Linked DNA regions of Homo sapiens: regions 1, 2, 4, 5 and 6 are each linked to region 3. The links are contacts of gene promoters, found by promoter capture Hi-C in blood cells and fetal thymus (Javierre and others, 2016). All regions are on one chromosome and are shown on one strand. Each heading gives the region's core, a stretch centred on a gene start or on the middle of the fragment in contact. The rest is flanking DNA. Distances are from core to core; before and after follow the strand shown.

Region 1 (3,023 bases), core at 198-2,697, 2.2 Mb before region 3:
CTACAACAAACGAATGAATTAATCAATGATTAGGAGTTTTGAGCATCTCAAATAACCGTTGAAGGAAACATATACACACAAATGCATGCATTTTCCCGTTAACGCGCAATGGAGATGTAAGCTGTAAGGGGCCTTGGAAGGCAGTTATTTCGACGTCCCTGCCTACGTTACGATTTTAAAAGCCCGATTACGATTACAAGTGTCCCGAGGGGATGAAAGTACAGCTTTCTTTAGTAGTCCCTGCTAACACTAATTTACCCTTGCCATGGGAGAACTCAGAAGCTGAGTTCAGAATTGGAGTCGGCCCTGGTCGGAGGTGGCGTGTGTTTCGGGGGAAATGAATTCCGCCAGCTCCGAGCAGCGGTTGGGACCGTTACTCACCATTTCTCAGGACGCCAAGCTGGGGCTGGCGGAGCACCGAATTGAAGAGCATCAGGGTCGGAGGAAAAGCCTCAGCTGAGAGAAAAGTCGTAGAAATGCCTCCAAGTTCAGCAGAAATCGCAGCTTGCGCCTCTCACAACACAAATCGTTATCGCCTCCAACTCCCGCCACTGTAAGCCCCGGCCGCCAAACTCCGCGCCAAACTGACGTCACGCTCTCTGATTGGCTTCCGAGCGACGTCCGGGCGCCTCAGAGTCATTTCCCCCTTCGGATCCCCGCCTCCTTTTCTCCCAGCCGCGGGAACCTGGAGTCCAAGAGCTCCTTGAGCGCCTGCGCAGGGGGTAGCAGAGGCGCGGACAAACCGCGGGGTGACCAGGGCGCATGCGTAACAGGGCTTGACAGCGCGCGGAAGAAAAACCAGCAAGAAGGCGGCGGGGGAAGATGGCGGTCCTGGGGTAGAGTTTGCAAGCTTTCTGACTAGGCTAGTCGAGTAACTATTCGGGTCATGGCGTCAAACTCAACTAAGTCTTTCCTGGCAGATGCCGGCTATGGCGAACAGGAACTGGATGCCAACTCTGCCCTTATGGAATTGGACAAAGGTATTCGAAAGAGAGGGCTGAATGGGTGAAACAGGCGTGGGGGGAAGTGGCGCCACCAGGTGGTGGTTGCTTTGGGAGAAGACGGATAGGCGCATGCGCATGTCTTCGCTGGGCGGGGAGCGCCTGTGCTTTTGCTGGGGCGTGGGCTTTGACCCCTTCGGGAGGTTGCGGGAAATTTGCAGGATTGTGTGACTGGCCTTATACCGGCTAAACAAGTAGCGAGCTCTAGTGAGAGGCCCGTTTTGACCACTTGAGGGAGCAGTCCCCCGATTTTCTAAGCAGTGACAGTGGCTAGTTTCTAAGAGACACTGCAAAGAAATTGTGAAATTGGTTTTCAGTCTGTTCAGTTGAGACCAGGTCTTCATGAAATGTGCTGAATAGTAATCTTGCACCGACTTGACAGCGATTCATTTGATTTCCATAGCTCTGTTACCTGCGGGTTACAAGGCAGGCTAAACCTGGCCAAGACCATAAAAAAGCAAGGGCCCTGCTCATTCTCTGCGGACAAGTTCCAGGAGTTCTGTTGCCGTACAGGGAGCAGCTTGGTGTAGAGGGAGCTTTGGGGTTACACTGAGTTAAGTTTCAATGCCGCTGATTTTATGATTAACTTCATCTAGCCTCGGCTTGTCGTCTGCAAAGTGGGTACAGTACCATTGAGCCGGCAGAATTGTATTAAGTGACTTAATGGTATGCAAAAGAAGCATTTAGTAAATGCTGAAGAGATATACCTCCCTTCTTAGATGTGGATATGGGAGGCAAGGTCGGAAATTTGTTAGTAAAGAACTCGACTAGTAATATGAAACCTTTATTTCATATTGAGGATTTTTATTGTACGGGAAACATTTCGGCAGCTGGTATACAATTAAATCTTGATTAATCGTAGCCAATATATAATGTTGGAGAACTGGACTAGAACTCAGAAGGGTTTGAGCCACTTCCCAGTTTTCTGAGTTGGACATGTCTATTAACTTTTTTGGGACTCTTTTTCTGTTTATTTTTTAAACTGTGAATATTTTTAGTGGGTTAGTCTAAATAAGAGTTTCTCAGGCTCTTAAAAAAGCTTTTACCTTATTTTGATAAACACAAAAATTTCACAGCCCCCTAATGGGATATTCCTTTGGTTGAGTCTCAGTATCTTTAGTGCACCCCCATCAACCAAGAAAATTATGTTGAACTTTTCCTTCTCTTACCAAATCTTTAGGGGTTTTCTCCTCTGAAAAAAAAAAGTATAATACTAAATGTGTTTTTCTCTTTTTTTTTGGAGACAGAGTGTTGCTCTGTTGCCCAGGCTAGAGTGCAGTGGCGCCATCTCGGCTCACTGCAACCTCCGCCTCCCGAGTTCAAACGGTTCTCCTGCCTCAGCCTCCCGAGTAGCTGGAATTACAGGCGCCCGCCACCACGCCCGGCTAATTTTTGTATTTTTAGTATAGACGGGGTTTCACCATGTTGGCCAGGCTGGTCTCCAACTCCTGACCTCAGGTGATCCGTCCGCCTCGGCCTTCCAAAGTGCTGGGATTTACAGGCATGAGCCACCGCGCCCGGCCTTAAATGTGTTTTTCAAACACTTTCCTCCTCATTCTGATACATTTCTTTCTTATTCCTCAGTGAAAGTTACAGGTCAGGATAATATCTAATATCCCTACGAGTTCTAAGGACATTTTCTACCATTCTGGTGCAGCTGAGCTTGTCTCATGCTGACAATAGGATAGTGGTTGTGGAACAGGGATAAAGATGGGGCACTGAAGAGGAGTCTAGAATGGTTTAATTCCTCAAATTTTGCAGTTGTAAGAAAAAAACCACAATTTTTCCTTTTTAAAGAAGAGTTGAAATGAAAATATTTTATATCTATAGGAAAGAAATCAGGTGTCAATCTTAGACACAGAGTAAGTGATCATTTGCACTCCTCCCAGCAATGCCTGGCGTGAGTGTTTTACAGGTGAATCTCAGGCTCAGAAAGATGACTTGTTCTTTTTCATCTCATCTGTAGTAACTTTTAAAGCTGTTAGGAAATTAAGTTATAGAAATAGCCAGTTTCGTGTAGAA
Region 2 (2,700 bases), core at 1-2,500, 3.0 Mb before region 3:
TTTCGGGTGCGCTGCACCTCGAAGCGGGCTGTGACCGAAATGCTACAACTGTGCGGCCGCTTCGTGCAAAAGCTCGGGGACGCTCTGCCGGAGGAGATTCGGGAGCCCGCTCTGCGAGATGCGCAGTGGGTACGGGACCAGTTAGCCAGTTCTTTACTCATCATCCTCTTACCCAACACCCAGGATCTTAGGATTCAGAAAGATCCCACGCCAGGCCTTGGCAGAATTAACGGTGCCCCAGGCTACTGTAGAACCAGTTCGAGAAACGCTAGAGGAGAAAGAAATAGATGCTAATGTCAGCTGGGTCTTATTAATTACTTAGACCAGCGCTGTCCAGTGAAAATACAAGGCAAGCTAATCTTTATGTAGTTTTAAACTAAAAGTAAGAAATAGGTGAAGTTAATGGAAATAAGACATTTTGTTTAACCCAATAAATCCAAGGTATTTTAACATGTAATAATATCAAATGAATGAGATATTTTACATTCTTTTGTTCGTACTAAGCTTTTCAAATCTGGTGTGCTGCATTTACGGCACATCTTCGAACTAGTTACATTTAAGCGCTCAGTAACTACAAAGTGGCTAGTGGCTCACCTGTTGGACAATGCAGCCGCAGACAATGAGGAATTCTCCTGGAAAGGGTAATTCTGGAAGTCAGCCATTCACCCAAGCAGCATTTGATCTTTCCTTTTGCATGTTTTATTTATTTATTTATTTTATTTTATTTTTTTTTTTTGAGACAGAGTCTCGCTCTGTCGCCCAGGCTGGAGTGCAGTGGCGCGATCTCGGCTCACTGCAAGCTCCGCCTCCTGGGTTCACGCCATTCTCCTGCCTCAGCCTCCTGAGTAGCTGGGACTCCAGGCGCCTGCCACCACGCCCGGCTAATTTTTTTGTGTTTTTAGTAGAGACAGGGTTTCACCGTGTTAGCCAGCATGGTCTCGATCTCCTGACCTCGTGATCCGCCCGCCTTGGGCTCCCAAAGTGCTGGTATTACAGGCGTGAGCCACCTCGCCCGGCCTATTAACCTTTATTTTTACTGTTTGCACTGTGGTCATTCATAACTCACAAATGTGCGGTATTATGAGCTTTTAAATTTTTTCCGCTAATATAAGTAGATTGGTGCCTGTTATAAGGAAGCACACAATCCCTTTATTTCTTGTGTTCCCAAAAAACTACCACCTTCAGGGCTTTGCAAAAATATTTAAGAAAGGCTTGGGAAATGTGGTATAGAGGCAAATGTATGATCTTAGTAAAGTTTTCAACCAACACAATTTTTTTTAACCTATTTTAGTCTTGTAAAGAAAATGTTTTCACTCTAAAACAGGCAAAAGGGGTCGGGCGCGGTGGCTCACGCCTGTAATCCCAGCACTTTGGGAGGCCGAGGCGGGCGGATCACGAGGTCAGGAGATCGAGACCATCCTGGCTAACATGGTGAAACCCCGTCTCTACTAAAACAATAATAATAATAATACAAAAAATTAGCCGGCCATGGTGGCAGGCACCTGTAGTCCCAGCTACTCGGGAGGCTGAGGCAGGAGAATGGCGTGAACCCGGGAGGCGGAGCTTGCAGTGAGCCCAGATCTCGCCACTGCACTCCAGCCTGGGTGACAGAGCGAGACTCCATCTCAAAAAAAAAAGGTTCAGTGGAAGAATGAAGAAACACTTCCTGGGTTGTGACTCTGTATGTAGTTTTGTATATAGTGACTCTTACGTCATTCCCTCCTTGCAAGCAAGGCAAGAATAGGGATATATCTCAGGACGTTTTTAGTAGTTTTTTGGGAGAAGACTTTTGTTGTATAATCTTAGAATTTGTCTGATTCTAGGAAATGCTAAGGTATTTAAAACATTTAGGTGTCTTACAGAAAAAGAGGAACTTGGCTTAACCTATTATATCCTATTTAGTGGGACGATAAAGTGAATTATAAGATAAAGTTTACAGGGCTTAGACTACCACAGGAATTCACTTGTGTTTTATTTTAAATAAAGCAGAAGCTTTATTTTGTATCTCTGTTTAAAACTGCATATTAAGTAGCAGATTTTCTTTAAAAACAGTATTGGTAGCAGTCTGCAATGAATGTTACAAAGACAATATGTTTTCTCAGCAATTCTTGAAAGTAATTCTAGAAAATAATTTTAAAACATACATAGGCCGGGCGCGATGGCTTACGCCTGTAATCCCAGCACTTTGGGAGGCTGAGGCGGGCGGATCACCTGAGGTCAGGAGTTCCAGACCAGCCTGGCCAACACGGTGAAACCCTGTCTATACTAAAAATACAAAAATTAGCCGGGTGTGATGGCGCTTGCCTGTAATCCCAGCTATTCGGGAGACTGAGGCAGGAGAATCGCTTGAACCTGGGAAGCGGAGGTTGCAGTGAGCCAAGATTGCGCCATTGCACTCCAGCCTGGTTGACAAGAGTGAAACTCCATCTCAAAAAAAACAAAAAACAAACAAACAAAAAATAAAATAAGGATTTTACTTTATGAAATCTTTGAAATGTAGAATATGTACTTTAACTCATAATTATCAGTAATTTGGTTTATGTTATTTTTAATTATACAAAGGGTACAAAATATATGCTCATAAAAAAATTCAAACAGTAGCATAAAGCAAAATTCTTTGAGTTCCCCTTCCCCATCCCTCTTCCTTCTAGGACATAAGGTACTATTTTGGAGAGTACTTGGGGAGAGTAAACTTTCTAT
Region 3 (2,827 bases), core at 155-2,654:
ACTAATACACTTAGTTCCTTATCGTAATTGCAAAGATCAATGATGTCCCAACAAATTCTTTAAAAACACACACAACATATGATGTGACTATAACTAACAATTTATTGTATATTTTCAAATGGCTAGAAGAGCGGATTTTCAATGTTCCCAACGCAAAGAATTGATGTTTGAGATGATGAATATGCTAATTACCCGGATTTGATCATTACACATTGGGTACATGTATTGTTATCAAAATATCACACTGTATCCCACAAATATGTACAATCATTTTATGTAAGTTAAAAATAATTATAAAAACAGGCCAAGCGCGGTGGTTCACGCCTGTAATTCCAGCACTTTGGGAGGCCAAGGCGGGCAGATCACCCGAGGTCAGTAGTTCGAGACCACCCTAGCTAACATGGTGAAACCCCGTCTCAACTAAAAATACAAAAAATTGATCGGGTGTGATGGCGGGCGCCTGTAATCCCAGCTACACGGGAAGCTGAGGCAGGAGAATCGCTTAAGCCCGGGAGACGGAGGTTGCAGTGAGCTGAGATCGCGCCACTGCACTCCAGCCTGGGCGACAAAGCGAGACTCTGTCTTAAAAAAAAAAAATTATATATATACATATATATATGTGTGTCTACAAAAAATTCCTAGATCTCTGACCACACAAAAATCCGCCCCCATAGCTGGGCGCGGTGGCTCACGCCTGTAATCCCAGCACTTTGGGAGGCCGAGGTGGGTGGATCACCTGAGGTCAGGAGTTCAAGACCAGCCTGGCCAACATGGTGAAACCCCATCTCTACTAAAAATACAAAAAATCAGCCGGGCTTGGTGGCGGGCGCCTGTAATCCCAGCTACACGGGAGGCTGAGGCAGGAGCATCGCTTGAACCCGGGAGGAGACAGAGGTTGCAGTGAGCCAAGATCGCGCCATTGCACTCCAGCCTGGGCGACAGAGCGAAACACCGTCTTAAAAAAAAAAAAAAAATCCTCCCCCACACAACGGGCGTGCCTCTTAGCAGGAAATTACAGGCTCAACAAAAAGGCCCGTGAAGCACTCCATCTCCCGGCGGGATGGCGCCAGAATCTCCCCGGCCGAGCACAGCGGGAGCCAGGGAATAGTGGGAAAAGGCCGGAGCAGCACTATCTGGGAGACCAGAGGACCAAACTCGAGGATACATCTCTGGCGACTGGGGAGCCCTGCCACGCCCCTTCAGACCTGTCATAGAAGGGATGCTCCTCGCCGAAATCTCGAAGATGTTTCTTCTGCTTTTTAGTTAGGGTGTTGAGTAGCTGGCTCTGGCTCCGGCTCCCGCGTTTGCCCATAGCGAAAACGTCAAGTTTGCCCACTTGCAAGAGTCGCGGTTTTCCACCAGGAAGTTGTCCAGTCAACACAAGCACGTGGGCTCGCTGACTGCGCTTTACGGCGAAAGCAAGGTGCCATAAAGCAGATCCGCTTTACGTCGCGCTCGTACGACAGGCTTAGAACATCCGGTTCCCGGTTCTGCCCCCTACCGCAGCTCTTTGAAAGCACGGGAGTTCGTTCACTAGTGTTCTCAGAGCCCTAGAACGTGGGCAGCTGGGCTTCCCGGGTTGCGTGAGTCGGGGGCATGAGCTTTGTGCTTGTGTTTTGGTTATGGAAATCAGTCTGCGTAAATGTGTAGTAGCGGAGATAGTCGAATGCAGTGACTTTACAGTATACTGCAATAAAAATATCAACCAACATTTAAGGGTGCCTGAACATCTCACTTCATCACCACAACAGTGTACAGATAGGTCTTGTTAATAAGCCTGGTGTTGCAGATAAGGAAACTGATGCTTAGAAAAGATAACACGCTAGCGGCCGGGCGCGGTGGCTCACGCCTGTAATCTCAACACTTTGGGAGGCCGAGATGGGCGGATCACCTGAGGTCAGGAGTTCGAGACCAGCATGGCCAAACATGGTGAAACCCCGTCTCTACTAAAAGTACAAAAATCAGCCGGGCGTGGTAGCGGGCGCCTGTAATCCCAGCTACTCAGGAGGTGAGGCAGGAGAATCGCTGGAACCCGGGAGGTGGAGGTTGCAATGAGCCGAGATCACTCCACTGCACTCCAGCCTACTCCAGCCTGGGCGACAAAAGCTAGACTCCATCTCGAAAAAAAAAAAAAAGAAGAAAAGAAAAGAAAAGATAACACGCTAGCAAGAGAAGAGAGAAAAACCTTAACTGATGCAACCACATGCTTTTACCCATTAGGGTCTGCCGCCTGTGTGTGTTATATCAATCATGGGGCCCACAAGTCTGAGATTCCCACCCTCACCCTATTCTCGCATTTTCTGAAAGTATTGGAAGAGTCCCCGCAAACAAATCTGTTCCAGCATTCCCCATTTAACAACAGCAGAAACACATCTAGAGAGGTAAAGTGACTTTACTGAAATCACCCCAGTCAATGCTAGAAAAGGCTGTGAAACCCAATCCAGTGTCTCATAACTGAACTCGGACAAAAGGGGATGGAAAAGCTTTTGAAGGTAAAGGAACCATCTTACATTTTGATCATGCTAGTAGTTACACCTTGTATACATAAGAAAAGTTAAACTGTACAGTTAAAATGGGTGAATTTTAATGTATTTAAATAACACCTAAATAAACAGGAAAAAGCAAAAATATAAAAGTAGACTCAGTATTCTAGGGATTTGCAAGTGTGCAGGGCTGCTTGAGACCACAGGATAAAGATGGTGAGATCCTTTTCCTAATAGTAACTTATGCTACCATGTTCTATAGAAACAGAGTGCTTAAATCATAAGCCGCAGAATTCACTTGAATATTTACGGTAAAACAGGAGCGTCCAAAATGAGAGAAATGA
Region 4 (2,700 bases), core at 177-2,676, 2.6 Mb before region 3:
ATTTTTAAACTAAGAATGCCTTTTTCCATTAACTTGTTTCCTCAGCCCTAGACATCTTGTGATAAAGAGTGCCTAACTTCCTGAGAAAGTCACCCAGCAGTTTTTTTTTTTTTTTTTGGCTTTATATGGCCTTTATTCAAGATGGAGTCATTCTGGTTAGGACACCTGTGACAGAATAAGTTTAAATGTTAATGGAATAACTCTGGCTGAAGCCGGGAGGCTACTGCAATAATCCAGGTGGGAGATGATGGCTGCTTGGACCAGGGTGGTGCCTGGGGATGTGGTGAGAAGTGGTTGACTATGGATATGTTTTGAAGATGTGGTTGATAGAATTTGCTGACAGATGAGACTTGGGATGTAAGAAACAGAGAGGAGTCAGAGGTGAGTTGGAGGTTGTTGCCCTGAGTAACTAGAAAGATGGAATTGCCATTTATTGATATAGGAGTAGGTTTTGGAGGAGAAGATCAAGATCAATTTGGGGCTTGTTCAGTTTGTGATGTGTGTTAGACATCTAACTGAAGGTATCAAATTGGCAATTAAATATACAAGTCTAGAATGAGGGGAGAGTTCTGGGCTGGAGATAGAAATTTTGGAATTCACTGGCATAGGTGTTGTATGTAAAGCCACAGGAATGGCTGAGATCGCCAAGGGAAGTGCATGTGGACAGAGGGGACTGAGCTCCTAACATTTGGTGGTTGGTAGAACTGGCAAAGGAGACCAGAAAAGGGCTCACTGTATGCCAGGTACTGGTTTCAGCACTTTGATGTTTATAAGCTCTTTTAATCCTCACTTTAACTCTGGGACATAACTATTACTATGTCAGGGGACCTTAAGTACCTCACGTAGCTCTCACAGTAGGTGACAGAGCCAAGTCAAGCACAGGCCATGTGTCCTACAGCCTGCCATAACCACCAGGCTATCCTTCCCCCCAGCGACTATACCAAATGTTTATACTTTTACTTATTTAACAGGATGGGTTTCTAGTGCAGAGTGACTTAAACAGGATCTGTGTGCATTAACTTTACTCTGAATCTCAATTTCCACATTAGTAACATGCCAGCCTGCCTCTTTCATAGGACTGTGTTAAAACTAACAATGGTAGTGGAATTGTAAACCTCGAAGTGCAGTATCTACATTACACTGTGTCACAAGATCTCTGGGGATGGAGGAGGCCCTTGAAAACCCCCGAATTGAATATCATCCCCTTCCTGATGCATGTCACGATAACATCCCTATCATACCTTGTACTGCCTCTCTGCTTGGGCCCTTTCTCTTTCTACAGTTCTGTTTGTAAGGAACATCTTTAAGCCAAAAGACCCTTCTAATTTCTACTGATCCCATATAACTCCCCCCTCCCTGAGATGCTGAGGATAAGTCTATACATGAATAACATGCTTATAGGCCCTTGGATTTCTCCAGGCACCCCTCTGATTGTCATTTTCTACTTGAACCCAGACATATTTTTCCAAAGCACTTGGAATCCGTTAGTCACCGGCAAGAAAAATGGAAAGTATTCTTTTTCTTTAAAATTTTATTTTATTTTAAGTTCTGGGATACATGTACAGAATGTTCAGGTTTGTTACATAGGTAAACGTGTGCCATGGTGGTTTGCTGCATCTATCAACCCATCACCTAGGTATTAAGCCCCACATGCATTAGCTATTTATCCTGATGCTCTCTCTCCCAAAATAGAAACCATTCTGGATAGAACAGAATGGCTGAATACAGGGAGCCAGTTACACAGGTGATGAAAGAAGCTGAGACAATAACCCTGAGGCAACCAAGAGTATCAACAGCAGGAAGTCACCATTCCAGCCAATGGAAGGGTAACAGGGGTGTTTATTTATTTTTATGTATCTTTTCTGAGATGAAGTTTTGCTCTTGTTGCCCAGGCTGGGGTGCAGTGGCACAATCTCAGCTCACTGCAACCTCCACCTCCCAGGTTCAAGTGATTCTCCTGCCTCAGCCTCCCGAGTAGCTGGGATTACAGGTGTGCGCCACCACGCCCGGCTAATTCTTTGTATTTTTAGTAGAGACAGGGTTTCTCCATGTTGGTCAGGCTGGCTTCAAACTCCCGACCTCAGGTGATCCACCCGCTTCAGCCTCCCAAAGTGCTGGGATTACAGGCGTGAGCCACCACGCCAGGCAACAGTGGTGTTTATTAGAGTCTAAGGGCCTGAGTCACCTGGCTGAAGCTAGGACCACAAAAAGCCTTTGTATCAGGGGCTGGAGCCATGGAAGGGAAACTGTGAGAGGCAGAGAACAGGGAAAAAAAAGCCCTGGCTTCTCCCTTGCCCTGACTCCTGAAAATGCCTCCTGCTAAGGTATACATGTAAATGATTGCCAGCCATTATTCTAGAGGTCACAAGACATTGCAACTTCCCCAATTACTCCTGCAGATAACGTCACTATCGTAGAACCTCAGCTTGGCTTTTTGAAATGTCTTTTCGGGTTTTTTGCATGTCCGACACTGATGGCTCCACCTGGACCCACCAATCACTCCTGTGGCCCCCACCCAGCAGTGACTAAGTGCACTGGAGGACCATTTCCCACACCCCTGTGATTGCAACCCCAACCAATCAATAGCAAGCACCCACCCCTATCCTATCCCACAAACTACCTTTGAAAACCCCTGGCCCCCAAATGCTTGGGGAGATTGATTTGTGTAATAACTCTGTCTCCCTGTGGCCTCAGTCAGTT
Region 5 (3,020 bases), core at 19-2,518, 2.5 Mb before region 3:
TATAGTAATCAAAACAGAATAGTTCTGGCATAAAAACAGACACATAAACCAGTGGAACAGAATAGAGAGCCCAGAGATAAATTCAACCGTATATGATAGTCTCTTCAATAAAGATGCTAGGAAAACCATACATCCACATGAAAACAATGAAATTGGACCTTTATACCATACACTAAAATCATCTTAAAATCAACATAGGGAAAATGCTCCTTGACATTGGCCTTGGCAATGATTTTTGTTTTTATATTATATCAAAAAGGGTACAAAAGCAAAAAAACTAAATGGGACACATCAAACCAAAAAGCTTCTGCATGGCAAAGGGAACAATCAACAAAATGAAAAGGTAACCTATGGAATGGAAAAAAAATTTGCAAACCACATATCTGGTAAGGGGTTAGTATCCAAAATTTATAAAGGACTCTTACAACTCAATAGCAGAAAAATAAATAACCTAAAAAAAAAATTTTTTTTTAATTGACAAGGCTGGGCACAGTGGCTCACATCTGTAATCCCAGCACTTTGGGAGGCCAAGGCAAGCAGATCACTTGAGGCCAGGAGTTTGAGACCAGCCTAGCCAACGTGGCAAAACCCCATCTCTACTAAATATGCAAAAGTTAGTTGGGCGTGGTGGTGCACACCTGTAGTCTCAGCTACTTGGGAGGCTGAGACACGAGAATCACTTGAACCCAGGAGGCAGAGGTTGCAGTGAGCCGAGATAGTGCCACTGCACTCCAACCTGGATGACAGAGGGAGACTCTGTCTCAAAAACAAATAAATAAATAAAATAAAAATGGACAAAAGACCTGAACAGACATTTCTCTAAAGAAGACATAAAAATGGTCAACAGGTGCTGGGCACGGTGGCTTATGCCTGTAATCCCAGCACTTTGGGAGGCTGAGGTGGGTGGATCACCTGAGTTCAGGAGTTCGAGAGCAGCCTGGCCAACATGGTGAAACCCCGTCTCTACTAAAAAAAAATACAAAAAATTAGCCAGGCATTATGGTGGGTCCCTGTAATCCCAGCTACTTGGGAGGCTGAGGCAGGAGAATCGCTTGAACCCGGGAGGCGGAGGTTGCAGTAAGCCAAGATTGCACCATTGCACTCCAGCCTAAGCAACAAGAGTGAAACTCTGTCTCAAAAAAAAAAAAAAAAGGTCAACAGGTATATGAAAATGTACTTGATATCACTATCATCAGGGAAATGCAAATTAAAACCACTAGGAGATATCAGTTCACATCCATAAGGATAGCTATTACCAAAAAGACAATAGGCAACAAATGTTGGCGAGGGTGTAGAGAAAAGGGAACCCTAGTACACAATTGGTGGGAATGTAGATTGGTACAATTATTATGAAAAACAGCATGGAGTTCCTGAAGAAATTCAAAATAGAACTACCTCATGACCCAGCAATCCTTCTAGTGGATGTATATCCAAAGAATATGAAATACCACTGGTAAAGATATGTGCATTCCCAATGTTAAGTGCAGCATTATGCACAATAGGGAATACATGGAAACAACCTAAATGTCCATCAATAGACGAAAATATAAAGAAAATGGTATGTACGTGTGTGTGTATAATGGGATATTATTTATATATATAATATATATATACACATGCATTATATGCATTATACAGACACATTTTATATATATAATATATATATAATGGAATGTTATTCAGCCCTCTAAGAGGAGATCCTGCTATTTGCCACAACATGGATGGACCTAGAGGACATTATGCTAAATGAAATAAGCCAGATACAGAAAAATATTGCATGATCTCATTTATGTGTAGATTTTAAAAAAAAAAAAAAGGAGTTCAAATACACAGAGAATGAAACAGTGGGATGCAGTGAGGAAGAGGAAACAGGGAGGTGTAGGTCAAAGGATACAAAACAGCATGTATGTAAGATGAATAAGTTTAGAGATCTAATGTAGGAGGAAAGTTAATAAAAATTGTATTATATTAGGCGTTTTTTGTTAAATAAGTAGATCATAGCTGCTCTTGTCACAAAAAGGTAACTAAGTAAGAGGGTAGATCTATTAATCTGCTTTACTAGAGTAACCATTTTACTATCTACTTTTCTAGATCTTTTTAAAGAATTCTAATTCCATATTGTCTATCTGGCCATTTTGCAAGCACAAGAACATACTGATATGATTAGACATCATGATTTTCAATTGCTGCCATTTTTGCTTTTTAACTTTAAACTTCTTTTAGTTAAGCTTATTATGATTCACCTCATTTGTTGTGGGCTATTGTACAGGCTATTGTGTTGGTCAACCAGGAGCTTAGACTAGGCCAGTGGCAGTAGAGATGGCTAGACTGGAGATTTATTTTGGACGAGGAGTATATAGGATTTGCAGATAGACTGAATGTGGGCTGTTGATACAGCAGAGGTATTATTAATCCCCGAAAACCTGCTCCTGTATTTATACTTTCTGATTATCACTGAATCATCTTTCCATAACTATGAAATCTTTTGCCCCATCTAAATGGGCTGTAATCATAAATGTTCAATAGCCCCTTGTCTACCCATTTCTTTACCTGTATAGATGAGGAACCAGGACATAGTTTGAAGGGGCTCAACTCATGCCAATATACCCTTGCCCTTGCAGAGTGGGACGAAAGAACCTGATGTTAGCAAACTCTCCACACTTTAATTCAACCCTGCAAACACTTTCCAAGTGCCTTCTGTTTGTCAGGCAATATGCCAGTCACTAGGAATGAAGAGGTAGATAAGGATGGGCCTTAAAATCAATCTAGTGAGGAGGGACAACATAAACAAATGAACAAACAATTATCAGAAATATTTTTTATGGTGTGGCAAAACAGTGAAATATAGGATCTAATTTGGTTTGGAAAGAAAGAGAAAATTTAACAGAAAAAGTAATGTTTGAAACCAGTCTTGAAACAAAACAAAGGCCAGGCATAGTGGCTCTTACCTGTAATCCCAGCACTTTGGGAGGCCAAGGCATGCAGATCACCTGAGGTCAGGAGTTCGAGACCAGCCTGAC
Region 6 (2,735 bases), core at 97-2,596, 2.8 Mb before region 3:
CATGAATATGCCCTGGAAAACATTCTTTGGCCAGGAGCTCCATGATTACTAGGCCTCCCAGAGATCTCTCCAGCCCAGGGCTGGCTCTCTGACAGAGGCTCTGTGGAGTCCAGGAAGGAGGGCAGCTGGTCACCCACTTTGATCTCAAAGGCTTCTGAATAGAATACCCTGACTTCAAACTCCCCCTGGAGATCTAACATACACCAATGGAGGCAAGACTTCCAGGCCAATGAAATCTGCCCTTGACTAGTCAAAGAAACCCAGGCTATGTATGTAATTCTTTTCCCAAAGCCCTGTGTCATGAGTCAGAACTGAAGTTCTTCTCTCAATTTAATCCTATAATCTTAGGATGCTGGGAGGATACTTGTCGCTGTCAGGCAATAAACTCTGAGAAACTAGCCTTCTAAAGCCAGAGGCTTAAGATTCTCCCATGCATTCATGTTTCCCTTCCCTTTCCAAGTTTATTAAAAACTCAGTGATTCGGGGATGACATTCAGAGCTGCCACTGGGCTGGTCTTTGTTTGGAGGCCTGGATGGCTCCCTTCTACACGGGGACTTTGAATTCCACTGCAGTAGAGTGTAGTTCCATTTTGCCATCCAACTAGGTTTATTAATGAGCTCTCAGGGCTTGGGGTCTGCTGTTTATGACTCCCGCCCCCTACCCTTCTTCTTATGTAAAGTCAGCAGTCCCAATGAAAGAAGCTGAAGAATGTCAGTGGTATGGAATGCTTTTATGAAAAGCATTGGGTGGGCTTCCTTGGGGACATAAATGGTTGTAAAAATGTTAAAAGCCTTTCAGAAAATAAAACAGATGTATCTGTCGAGATTTGGGTTTTCTCGGCACTAGGCTAAAGCTTAACTTCTCGGGATACTTTCTAGTTATTCCTTTACTCAGTCTCTCGAGGTATGATTCAGCCTAGACTACGGCTGTGTCCCCACAAGGAAATGAAGTTAAATCTTCACACAATTTTTCAGAAAGTTGAGATCCTCAAACATCCCGGTCATTGAAAAAAATTGTTTGGGGACCTCAGATCAGAGTTGACTTTCTATGCTGATCATAAAATTGTTCAGACTTGCTACCAAGAACTTGCATTTTGTTTCTGCTTGATTATTTCCAATCAGAAATCATGTTGTATCATTGGCAGTTTCATCATTTTCAAGAAAGTGAAAGTTTACTCATGTATTCCTTTAACTGGAAATTCAGCTCCCAGATTTTTATTTCCTAGTAGCTACAGCTACATTGAATTTTCACTTTTAATTTTCATCCTCTTTCCACTAAGCATTGCTTGCTAACCATCTTATGTTACTAGGAAGCCAGTACTGGCCTTTCACTAACTCTTCATATCTTGGTCTTCCTCCCAGACCTCTTGAAGAGGTGCAAAGCTGGGCATCAAGGGCCAGAGACAATGTTTCTAAGCCTATCAGTGCCACTCATAAGCTGAGCATCCACCAACAAATCACTTAGGCTTTCTGGGCCTCTCATTCTCTTCCTCTGTAATTTGAGATCAAAACTGCCTTCCCCAAAGGGCTGTTGAGAAGGACATATGAGATTTACATACACACCGGGTAGTCATTACTACTGTGACTCCATCTTCTCCATTTCAGGAAAAACTCATTCTGTTGTTATCAATTCAATAAAGCCCTGTTAGTGAGGAATTAACTGGAACCTTCAAGACATTCAGGTCAGTCAGAGCCTCTTTTGTACTCTCATTGACCCCAAGTTCTTCACAGACCAGGTAGGTTTCACCCCACTATTTGCTGATGCCAGCATTTCTGCATTACATATTTGAAAGAGAACCAATTCTCACATATAAACCATTTCTCCCTTGGAAAGCTTCTGAGGCATCTTGGCTATGTCCTTCCTCCTCCCCTGGCTGGGTAAACACTCGAAGCCACTGGCCCTGTCCCATGCCCAGCCAATTTTAAAAAGGAAGGAATCATGGACTCTATCTAATGGAAATCACACCCTCTCAATATTAGAATCATCTAGGTCAGATTCTCATTTCATAATGAGTACATTGGTCCAGGGAGGTAAAAATGACTTGCCTGAGGTCATAAAGCTGGTGAGTGGCCCAGCCCATGCCAAGCTGCTGAACACCCACCGACTGCTCATTTTGCTCCATCACCAATAGGTATCGACCGCCTCAAGGGATCAACCAACAAGGCAACCAGAGAACAGAGCCATTAGCCAGGTAGATAAGGGGTCAAGAGTCCTGGCACCTGGTACCAATCACAGAGGAGACTTTGACAGGACTGAGATAGGGAGGGGCTATCGAAGAAAACGGCCATGGAGAAAAAGGAATTCTATAATGGCTAAAGGGCAAGGAGGAAGAGAGAGAGAAAAAGAAGGCTCCCATCACTGCCACAGATGCTGGGTGCTGTATCTTATCCCCACTGCGGGCGTGGGGTGCTGCCTTCTTTGCTGTCTCTGAAACCATTCCGACAGTAACTGCAATCCTCACCCCATCCCATCTTTGCCCAGGATATCCTCAAAGCAGGAGCCTGTATGTTGTAGCATTATTCTACAACCAATGCTAACTGCAAAACAATGGGGACAGTAATACCAATTTTTTGCCTTCACTTTAAGTTACAGAGACAGAAACTTCGAACAGAAGATATGACTGTCACCTACAACGAAAGGGGTACACTGAGAGAACATCCAGATTTTCTGGCTCTCCTTTTCTTTCTGGGTTCATCAAGGATTTAGTAACTATTTTATTTGTAAGAAAGCATAT

The links. The method cuts DNA at HindIII sites, captures the fragments that hold promoters and counts their contacts. A CHiCAGO score of 5 or more calls a contact.
Region 1: a fragment that was not itself captured here is called in contact with the fragment with the promoter of UTP25 in region 3 in 2 of 17 cell types (activated CD4 T cells and total CD8 T cells); the score reaches 8.0 in activated CD4 T cells.
Region 2: a contact is called between a fragment that was not itself captured here and the fragment with the promoter of UTP25 in region 3, in 2 of 17 cell types (total B cells and non-activated CD4 T cells). The highest score is 9.5, in total B cells.
Region 4: a contact is called between a fragment that was not itself captured here and the fragment with the promoter of UTP25 in region 3, in 2 of 17 cell types (total B cells and non-activated CD4 T cells). The highest score is 5.2, in total B cells.
Region 5: a fragment that was not itself captured here is called in contact with the fragment with the promoter of UTP25 in region 3 in 1 of 17 cell types (total B cells); the score reaches 5.1 in total B cells.
Region 6: a contact is called between a fragment that was not itself captured here and the fragment with the promoter of UTP25 in region 3, in 1 of 17 cell types (activated CD4 T cells). The highest score is 5.0, in activated CD4 T cells.

Annotation. Positions count from the first base shown.
Region 1 is chr1:212,033,301-212,036,323 of GRCh38, reverse strand. INTS7 (integrator complex subunit 7) reads left to right here and starts at 767. Exons shown (of 20, transcript NM_015434.4): 1 at 767-980. The coding sequence starts at 887. It overlaps DTL (denticleless E3 ubiquitin protein ligase adapter), which reads right to left and starts at 576. Exons shown (of 15, transcript NM_016448.4): 1 at 382-576. The coding sequence starts at 433. RefSeq lists enhancers at 1-291, 307-546, 292-828, 707-916. The HindIII fragment of the contact is 1,190 bases long and covers 853-2,042 here.
Region 2 is chr1:212,788,959-212,791,658 of GRCh38, reverse strand. NSL1 (NSL1 component of MIS12 kinetochore complex) reads left to right here. Exons shown (of 6, transcript NM_015471.4): 1 at 1-129. Among named protein-coding and RNA genes, the nearest start is that of NSL1, 1.5 kb to the left of the region's middle. RefSeq lists an enhancer at 431-1,209. The HindIII fragment of the contact is 1,488 bases long and covers 507-1,994 here.
Region 3 is chr1:209,826,549-209,829,375 of GRCh38, reverse strand. It overlaps UTP25 (UTP25 small subunit processome component), which reads right to left and starts at 1,404. Exons shown (of 12, transcript NM_014388.7): 1 at 1,206-1,404. The coding sequence starts at 1,312. RefSeq lists an enhancer at 1,315-1,364. The HindIII fragment of the contact is 3,327 bases long and covers 1-2,485 here.
Region 4 is chr1:212,418,529-212,421,228 of GRCh38, reverse strand. No RefSeq gene overlaps it. Among named protein-coding and RNA genes, the nearest start is that of PACC1, 5.0 kb to the right of the region's middle. The HindIII fragment of the contact is 9,263 bases long and covers 1-2,700 here.
Region 5 is chr1:212,277,528-212,280,547 of GRCh38, reverse strand. All of the region lies in intron 1 of LINC02608 (long intergenic non-protein coding RNA 2608), which reads left to right. Among named protein-coding and RNA genes, the nearest start is that of LINC02608, 6.0 kb to the left of the region's middle. The HindIII fragment of the contact is 1,924 bases long and covers 307-2,230 here.
Region 6 is chr1:212,610,222-212,612,956 of GRCh38, reverse strand. The region is part of intron 1 of ATF3 (activating transcription factor 3); the gene reads right to left. Among named protein-coding and RNA genes, the nearest start is that of ATF3, 2.8 kb to the right of the region's middle. The HindIII fragment of the contact is 980 bases long and covers 857-1,836 here.